Regions from separate parts of the Homo sapiens genome. Here region 2 is linked to region 1. The links are contacts of gene promoters, found by promoter capture Hi-C in blood cells and fetal thymus (Javierre and others, 2016). All regions are on one chromosome and are shown on one strand. The core of a region is centred on a gene start or on the middle of the fragment in contact, and the rest is flanking DNA. Distances in the headings are between cores, read along the strand shown.

Region 1 (4,498 bases), core at 1,135-3,634:
ACACTTTGAGAAGCTGAGGTGAGAGTTCAAGTTTACTTTGGGCAACATGGCAAGACCCCATCTCCAAAAAAAGAATTAAACTATTATGTACATTATGAAAGGCAGCATTCCCCAAAAGTATTTGATCACAGAATCATTTTCGTGTAATGCCTACTATTTTGTTTGAGAACATCTTTCAAAAAATCTTTTCCTAAGCCGGGCGCGGTGGCTCACGCCTGTAATCCCAGCACTTTGGGAGGCCGAGGCGGGTGGATCACGAGGTCAGGGGTTCAAAACCAGCCTGGCCAAGATGGTGAAACCCCATCTCTACTAAAAACACATAAATTAGCCAGGCGTGGTGGCGGGCGCCTGTAATCCCAGCTACTCGGGAGGCTGAGACAGGAGAATCGCTTGAACTCGGGAGGTGGAGGTTGCAGTAAGGCAAGAGATCGCGCCACTGCACTCCAGCCTGGGCGACAAGAGCAAGACTCTGTCTCAAAAAAAAAAAAAAAAAAAAAAAAGCTTCTCCAGCCATACTAAACGATTGCAACGCTTAGTGCTGGCCACTCCGTTTTAGAGTTCTGTGCCTTTGCAAGTGTTCCTTCTGGTAGTATGGCTCCTTTAGTCAGGCTGGGGAGAGCCTTTCAAATAAAAGCAAATTCCAGGCCTGGGGCGGTGGCTCAGAGAGGAGGGTGGATCGCTTGAGGCCAGGAGTTCGAGATCAGCTTGGCCAACGTGGCAAAACCTGGTTTCTACTACAATTACAAAAATTAGCCAGGCGTGGTGGCACACGCCTATAATCCCAGCTACCTCGGGAGGCTGAGGCACGAGAATTGCTTGAACTCAGGAGGCAGAGGTTGCAAATGAGCAGAGATTGCCACTGCACTCCAGTCTGAGCAACAGAATGAGAGCCTGTCTCAAAAAAAGACTGAAAAATTGCACATCTTTCTTTTCACCTAATCCCACGGAGAGTTGTCTTTCTGCAGCTTTACTATGAGAACTGAAGAACAAGTTCTGTGCACTGGACAATAACTTTTTATTTTTTATAGTAAGAAGTCGATGTAATTAACATTCCATTTTAAATGAATTCAAGTATATCAACATAAACATATGCCAAGACATAGCTTTGATGTCAAATACCATACGTTCTGGTTCACACATTGTTCATATATTGACCCAAAAAACTGAAATACGATCCAATGGCAGATCCGCCTGCAAGGAAGGTGATTCAGTTTTCACTGATTAAGCTTTATGTTCATCAGATTAATTGCTCGCAATAGAGGACACCCTACAAAAAATTATTCTCCTTATCCTTCGTCTTGTCTTTGCAAACAGGACTTTCAGACACAGAACGCCCCAGAAGTATTTCGAAACAGTTACCTCTCCTAAGAGGAGCTGCTGAAAGAATTTGTTACTAAACATGCTTCGTGTATATTCTGGAGCAAGCTCTCACGCCTAACAGAAACAAGAGCTACTTGATGTGAGACACTTTGTCACTTAAGTGTGATAATTGCCACAACTTCGGAGTCCGAGTAACTTGGAAGACAGCCCCTCTGGGGGATGGCACACTTTTCTCTCTGCAGTCATTTCGGCTTCACAAAATACCTCAACGGTAGAGAACACACTGGGCCCACCCCTTTCCAGGAGCAGCCGGTATAGAAGAAATCCGCGGAGCACAGAGGGTTGGGGAGCGGAGGCCCCACCAGGAGAAGGGTCAGCCGAACCAGGGATCGCCTGAGACCAACTTGGGTCCCTCCAGGGGACACCATGGGAGGAGACCGTGGGAGAAGAGTCTAACCTGAGAGGCCGCGGACGTTTGCTACAGCGGGAACCAGCTTGGGGGCTGAGAGCAGCCAAGGCATTACGGCCTAACTCACGCGTCGGGAAGAGAAAGAGGGTAACGACGGGGAACGCAACCGCCTGCAGGGCCGCGTCGCCAGGAAACCGGGCCAGCCGCACCTCCCCTTCCGGCGGAGGCGGCTCGCGGGCCTTCCTTGCGCGGCGGCGCAGGTTGTGACGTCATGCCCCGAGCTGGGACCGACCCTCCGGCTCCACGCCCTTTTTTTTTTTTTTTTTTAGGTCCCGGGCGTTGAGCTCTACTCAGTGCACGCAGCCACACAATATGCTCTTGGACGTCGCCCCCTGGAGGGGATGTTATCTCCCGCCTCCTTGAAGTCGCCCATTTCTGGGGTTGCCCCATCCAGGGAGCTGGTTCCTAGTTAAGAATATGAGAATGTATGCGCAGGGAGGCAGGCAACAGCACGAACAGCCACGCTTCTAGAAGATTCTAGGGAGCGCGCAGGAGCAGCGCAGAGGGAGTAGGAATGAGCAGGCGGAGGACCCGAGGTCACGAGACCGTTGGGTGGGAGGAGCCAGCGGCCGGGGAGGTTCTAGTCTGTTCTGTCTTGCGGCAGCCGCCCCCTTCTGCGCGGTCACGCCGAGCCAGCGCCTGGGCCTGGAACCGGGCCGTAGCCCCCCCAGTTTCGCCCACCACCTCCCTACCATGGACCCCCGCAAAGTGAACGAGCTTCGGGCCTTTGTGAAAATGTGTAAGCAGGATCCGAGCGTTCTGCACACCGAGGAAATGCGCTTCCTGAGGGAGTGGGTGGAGAGGTGAGACCCAGGCCTGAGGACCGTTGGGGGCGGGGGAAGCACGGCCCCAGGGGGGAGCCAGGCTGGACCTGGCTCGGTCCGGCGGGCGAGGCGGGGTCGCTGCCCCTTCTTTGCCCGGGAAAGGGAGGCAACTTCGAGGGGTCATGGAAGATCGCGAGCCTTGGGTAGTACAGGAGCCGCGGGGAGCAGGAGGCAGAGCTGGGTTCCTCGCACCCTGAGGTTGCCCAGGGGTGTATCTTGGGCGAAATACAAAAACAGGACTGCGGATGCGTGGACACTGGAGACGCGAGGAGTGAAAACTGCAAGACTTAGATTTTGCGTGGGGTTGTTTTTCTTTCAGTCTTGTGTGCCCTGCTCAGGTCTCATTGGTACATAGCAGTTCCTTTACGCACTATTCCTTTACGTCGTGTTATAATAATATAACACTAGTAAGTTAAAAGTTACAAAACTAGTAAGAATAAAAATGATAACTGTAAAAATGATTGTTTTTACCTTACAGCGTTTGTAGCTGCGTAGGATTAATTATCTTGAGAATCACTTATTATACCTCCGTTACTTGGCAGTGTTATCACTCCAAACACGTCTGAGAAAAATAATTTCTTAAGGCCTGGCATGTTTCCAGGATATAATCTTGTTGTCTTTAACTGTAGAGTACTTCGCTACGTGCAAGGAGTTAATTGACAAGGCATTGTGCCTGGTGCTAGGAAACAGTATAAGTACTGTCTATTTAGACGAATAAATAGAAAAGTTCGTTTTGATATTTACTATATAATAGTAATTAGCATTTTATGTGTTGAAGGAGCACCGAAGAGAAAAAGTGACAGGGAAGTCTTCCCTAAGATGACTTTTTAAAAAATTATTACTAATGGGGAACTGAAAAGATGACATACAAATTGCACTAAACAGGGATAAATAGCAACTATGCAGACCATTGCGACTCCTAAGAGGTGCTGCTGTGAACGTTATGTGTTTAGTGACTTTTGTCTTTTAGAGACAGGGTTTGGCTGTATTGTCCAGGCCGCATACAGTGGCGGGATCACTGCAGCCTCCAATTCCTGGGCACAAGCGATCCTCCTGCATCAGTCTCCCAGGTGGCTAGCAGTGCGGGATCGAGCCACCATACTTGGCTAATTTAATTTTTTTGTAGAGATGGGGGTCCCATTAAGTTGCCCAGGCTTGTCTTGAACTCCTGGCCTCAAGGGACTCCCCCGCCTCCCAAAGTGGTGGTATTACAGGCGTGAGCCACTTCACCCAGCGTGATATTTTTGTGTGGGAAGATGAGCTCATGATTACCAAATAGCTCAAAGAATATTTCTTAACAACAATCTGGTTCTAAGGAAAAAACTCGTTACAATCTGTCAGCGTTGTATGTTGTATTTTTTTCCTCTAAGAAGTTTTTCAATTTTTAGCTCCCCACCAATTGTCTAACTACTGGAAGACTTACTTATATGTGAAATTCTGAGACCATTTAATATTACTATGTTAATAGTAACTTTATGAATATTGGTAAGAAGTCTATTTTGCAAACTCCTCAACCGGGAAATGTCAGGATTAGGAATTGAGGGCTAGGTTTTAGTCGTTTTCTCTATTGAACAGCTTGATGATCCAAAAGCCTTAAGATATTTGTATGCTTTTATCCTAATTATAGGAAAGAACCTGCAGTTAATAAATTCTTTCTAAAATTCCAGGTAACGTAGACAAGTATCACAGGAAGAAAATAGCCGGCTCCAAGAGCTGGCTCCACTTTACATTAAGTGGATACAATGTTTTTGTTTCATTCTTACTAGTGAGGAAGAGGAGACACAGAAGAACAAATTAAAAGCATGTGTAAGAACAGTGTCCTCCTGACTTGTGCTGGAGTGATTGTGCCTATGTAGAGAATTCCACTTTAAGGTTTGCAAAATAT
Region 2 (4,498 bases), core at 1,381-3,880, 590 kb before region 1:
AGCCCTGGCAAGATGTAATCACACACTGGGAAGGAAAAAAAAACTTCATCACCACATGATAAATGGAGACATCAGCAGTTGAGAAGGGCGGTTACGTTTTTTCCCCTCGATTTTATCTTTTCCTACTTATATGCTAACCTTTTACCCAGAGCTCCCACCAAGGAGGCTGGATTTCTCATTTCATTCTAATGATGCTACTCAGGGCTGATGTCTTTCCAGCGTTGCAGAAGAGATTCTATTAAACGCACAAACATGCAGAAACTCATGGCCTTCCTTCCAAGGATTCAGTCCGCCCTCCCTCAACCTGTCCGGAATGGTAGAAGACGTCTACCCTCTAACTGCTTATATGTACTCCAGCTGTTCCTCCTAAGATGCCGTAGGACAACTCGCTTCAGCTCACCTTCACCTTTACCATTGTCAGAAGTTTCACATTGGAGAGTGGACACCATACTCAGCCCAGGATATGCAGGATGTGCAGAGGCAATTTGGCCCAAACACTAATCTTTAAATTAAGAATAGCAACGATTTGAGCCAGGCTTTACATACAGCATCATATTTAATCCCCGACACGAGCTCCATTTTATAGATGGGGAAACTGAGGTTTGGTGATGTCAAGCGTTTTGCTGCATTAAATCAAGATCACACAGTCGGTAGCCGAACTGGGATGTAAACCCACCTATTTACATGGCTGCCTTAATCAATGACTACAAATACCAGCATCCCTTGCCGTGCCCGCTGGCGCAAACGCACACTCCCAAGGGCCCAGTCTTAGCGGCTGGATCCTAAACCCAATCAGACACCGCTTCTCCCTTTCCCCCGACCAATGGGAAGGCTGTTGCTAACACACCGGCTATATTTTTAGCTTTCAGTGCTCTGGGAGCGTGTGGGTCGGCTGAGCCTCTCTGCCTGGTGGGAAGAGCTAGGGGAAAAGAGAGAAGGGAAGGGGAGGGGGAAAGGGAGGGTGCAGCGGGCATGTGCGGGAGGGGGCGTGTGTGTGACGCTGTCACTCGCTGACGCACAAGGCAAGTAGTCCCTGGAGGTGCCCCCGGGGTTGCGACGCTCAGAGTGTGGGGGATGGGGGGGCGCTCAGGCTATCTCCCGCCTCCCTGTCCCGGTGGAGTTTGCCCTCCAGCCCGGCATTTCTCTGTTGCATTCAGGGAAAGTGCATTTAAACCCCCCACGCTACTGGTGCTCTCCGCCCTTGCCAAAAAAAGCGATCAAGGAAAAAAAAAAAGCAAACTGTTCGTAGCTGGAAACTTTCGGATCTCGCCACCCAACGTGGGGATGGCGGCTGCTGCTGGGCCGGAACCGTCTGGAATGACAAAAAAGGTGTGGGCGGGAGGGGAGAACTGGGAAATGGGAGATCTAAGGAGGGACCGGGGAGAAGACCTCACTCACAGTCCCCCGGGGGCTCCAGACTGCATCTTCCGGCACTCCTGTCTGCCTGTGACCGCAGAACACGGCCCTCCCTCCCCCTGGCTCTGTGTCCCGCACACTCACAGAGGCAGAGCAGCCCGCGTGGCCAGAGCCGGGGGAGGGGGCCTCAGCGCGCGGGCCTGGCGCGCCCAGTCCCGGGTTCGCGGAGCCTCGCTCCGCCGCCCGAGGGGCCGTAGTGGGTGCGAGCCTTGCGCCCGTTGCACGGTCAGGGGCCACCCCACGCCGGCGGGACTGCGACTAGAAGAAATGTGGGGCTCTCCCGCGTGCCCCACACTGGGGTCGCTGGCCAGAAAGAGCAAACAAGAGTTGGGAGAGGGGCTGCGCCCGCGCGCCTGCGCAGAGCCAGAGCCGGCCCTCCAGGCTGCAAGGAAAGGAGCGCCAGAGGCGGTGAGGGGAAGGTCCTTTGTGGCACTCGGCTAGTTTCACGGCCGTCAGCCTCGTCCTCGGCTCCTCTTACTCCCGCACAGCGTGGCCCAGGCCCCAGAGTCTCCCTCGCCTTTCTTTCGACGTTGAGCCCCCCGAGGAATCACAAGGCGCTCGGAAGACTCATGCCTGCCCGAAACGGGTCCGAAATGTTTCCAGAGCCCGCGTCGTCCCCTCAGTTCCCCCTCCCGCAGAGGCCGTAACGGGGCGATGCTATCGCCGCGGACACGGCCAGACGCTCGGAGCTGGAGGGAAGGCCCCGGGAAACGGCTCGGGCAAACGTCCGAACCATGGGCTCCGAGGCAGGTGCAGGGCGGACGACTCAGCGGGGGGTTTCCGGCGGGCATGGTGACTCCCTCCCCTCCCCCGCGATACTCGTCCCCCAAACACAACTAAAGGGAGAGTGCACTGTGCCCGGCTCGTGAGCAACCCGGCCCCAGGTGGTCCCCGGCCCTCACGGAGCGCCCCTGGGAGAACACCTCACACGACGCGCACAAGTTCAGAGTGGTATGGGAATGAAGGAAAGGAGTGCGGCGCGGCGCTGTGACAGGGAGGGGAAGACGGGGAGCCGGACGCACGACCGGCGAGCACAGAAGGGCACAGGAGCTGCTCCGCGAGATACCAGCGAGCTGAGGCGCGGGGCTGGCTGGGAAGTAGTCCCGGCCGGGCCCTGGCCCCGCCCCTGCAGGGCGGAGGGACGCATCACGCAGGGGTGGGGAAGCCGGATCCGTGCGCAGGGTTGCTAAGGGTGAAACTTTTCATTGACTTTGCTCACTTCGGGCCGGGGCGCGGGAAGGTGCGGGTTGTTGGCTGAGGCAAGCCGTGGCTCGGGCGACGCGGGGCCAGGAGGGCAGGACCGTCTGCCGGCGACAGCCCATACCGTCTGCCGTTGCGCGACACGAACCACCCTCCGATCCGCCATCCCCGCGTCGTCGCCGCTAGTCCGCCCGCCCGCCCTCGGGCCCCCCGCTGCCGAGCCCGACCTCCTAAGAGCTGAAAGAAATTATTGAGAGTCATAGTCCATAGCCCCCTGCTTCGTCCCCCAACCCTCAACGACGAAAAGGACTTCGGTCCCCTGGCCCGGCGACGCCCGGGAAGGAAAGGAGAGCGACCTCCGCCCCGCGCTCAGGCCACCCTGGAGGGAGAAGCCGCCCCGCGGCCGGTAGAGCGCCCCGCCGCCGCGGAGACCCGAGTGAGTGAGTTGGGGGGCGTGCGGGCGGGGGGCCCGCCCCGAGACCCAGCCGGCCGGACTACCTCTTCCACCCCGCCCCACTCCCGCTTTGCTGGACTCTCCACGTTGCTGCCGCTCCCTCCCCGCCTGGCCAGCATTTTCTTTCCCCATCCAGCTTCCCTCCAGACCCCACTTTCCCCAGCTCCTCTTCTCACGCCATCTGTGCTCCTGGGGTGCCCAAGAGCTCCTTTTTCTCCCAGTTCCAAGAGTGGCCCTCTCCTGGGTGGGGTGCATTTCCTCCCTTCCCCGCCTCCCCCGGTTCTTTATATCCTAGCTACTCGCTAGATCTTCCTTGTTCTCCAAAGAAACATAACTCCCCCCACCGTTAAATAAATCCGAGGAAGGAAGGGGATCCAGGCCTTGTTTTTCTGCTTCTTTTCCCGTGTGCAGGGAAGGGGGGTGGTAATTGTTAATAGACTCTATTTCTGGCTCTGTGGAGCCTGAAGGGTGGAGGGTGGACACCCCCTTTGGCGACGGGACAGGTCAGTGGAGATTGTCCTTGGGCCACTGAGCCAGAGTTCACCGTTTCGGCTGAGCTCTTTATACTCTTAAGTGTTTTAATGGAAAATTGGGCAGAAAAAAGTACCCTTAGAGCAGTGCCAGTGAGTGGATTCTGCTTATCTTGGTAAGGTGCCTGCGAGGTGGGGCCCTACCCCCAAACTCCTTCCCCTCCTGTCCGGAGGATGAACTGTGCCCTTGACCACCAGAAATCTGGGAGGGGAAGGAGGGTGCAGAGAGGAGGCACAGCCGGCAGGCCCTCTCCCTCCCCCAGGAGAAACCAGAACCCCGCACAGCAAGCTTCAGCTTGGGGACGGGTGGAGGCCAGTCTCTGGTGCTACTCCGTATCTAAACGGTCTTTTTCTCCTTCTTACCCACCGTACCCTGGGAATGGGTCCTTCATCTCTGATTTTCCGGCAGAAAAACAATCCTATTGCTTTCTTGGGCTTCTACCCCCATCCCTCCGTGAAGCATAGGGGGAAAGAAGCTTGTGTGGGAGGAAGGATTAAGGAGGTTTAACACCCAGCGGGGGAGCTTGCCGAGGATCTGGTAAGTCTGGTCGTAAAGCAGACCTTGCAATGGGAGGAGACACACAGAATTTTAGTATGAGAAGATGCTCAGGTGTCAGGTGTACAGTTTTTTTCTTCTCTGCCTGGGAACCTTTTCCTATTTCCCTCTCCCGGATCTGGTTACTCAGTCTTCGATTAGAAATGGGGTGAGGCTTGGGCCCTGCTGGCCTTGGCCTGGCGCCTCCCCACAGCTTGACTGGAAATTTCTTTGGCCGAGAGGACGGGAGAACTGGGTTTGATTCCTGCCTTTCCTTTCCTGGCTGTTTGGGGTGCTGGAGCCGAGTCCGCTAGGCATTAAGTGAAAAAGATCCGTTTCCCTTTGAATCCACCGTCCATCCAG

The links. Contacts are between HindIII fragments. The CHiCAGO score rates a contact against its expected background, and 5 or more counts as called.
Region 2: a contact is called between the fragment with the promoter of TOB2 here and the fragment with the promoter of ST13 in region 1, in 1 of 17 cell types (fetal thymus). The highest score is 7.6, in fetal thymus.

The regions. Positions count from the first base shown.
Region 1 is chr22:40,854,525-40,859,022 of GRCh38, reverse strand. ST13 (ST13 Hsp70 interacting protein) reads left to right here and starts at 2,384. Exons shown (of 12, transcript NM_003932.5): 1 at 2,384-2,592. The coding sequence starts at 2,483. It overlaps XPNPEP3 (X-prolyl aminopeptidase 3), which reads right to left and starts at 1,875. Exons shown (of 10, transcript NM_022098.4): 1 at 1,778-1,875. The coding sequence starts at 1,841. RefSeq lists enhancers at 1,570-2,029, 2,040-2,259, 1,887-2,656. The HindIII fragment of the contact is 3,469 bases long and covers 1,229-4,498 here.
Region 2 is chr22:41,444,933-41,449,430 of GRCh38, reverse strand. TOB2 (transducer of ERBB2, 2) reads left to right here and starts at 2,630. Exons shown (of 2, transcript NM_016272.4): 1 at 2,630-3,052. It overlaps LOC105373043 (a long non-coding RNA gene), which reads right to left and starts at 2,486. Exons shown (of 2, transcript XR_938274.2): 1 at 1,399-2,486; 2 at 538-1,312. RefSeq lists a silencer at 1,499-1,598 and enhancers at 1,469-2,164, 2,169-2,418, 2,165-2,860. The HindIII fragment of the contact is 7,856 bases long and covers 1-3,891 here.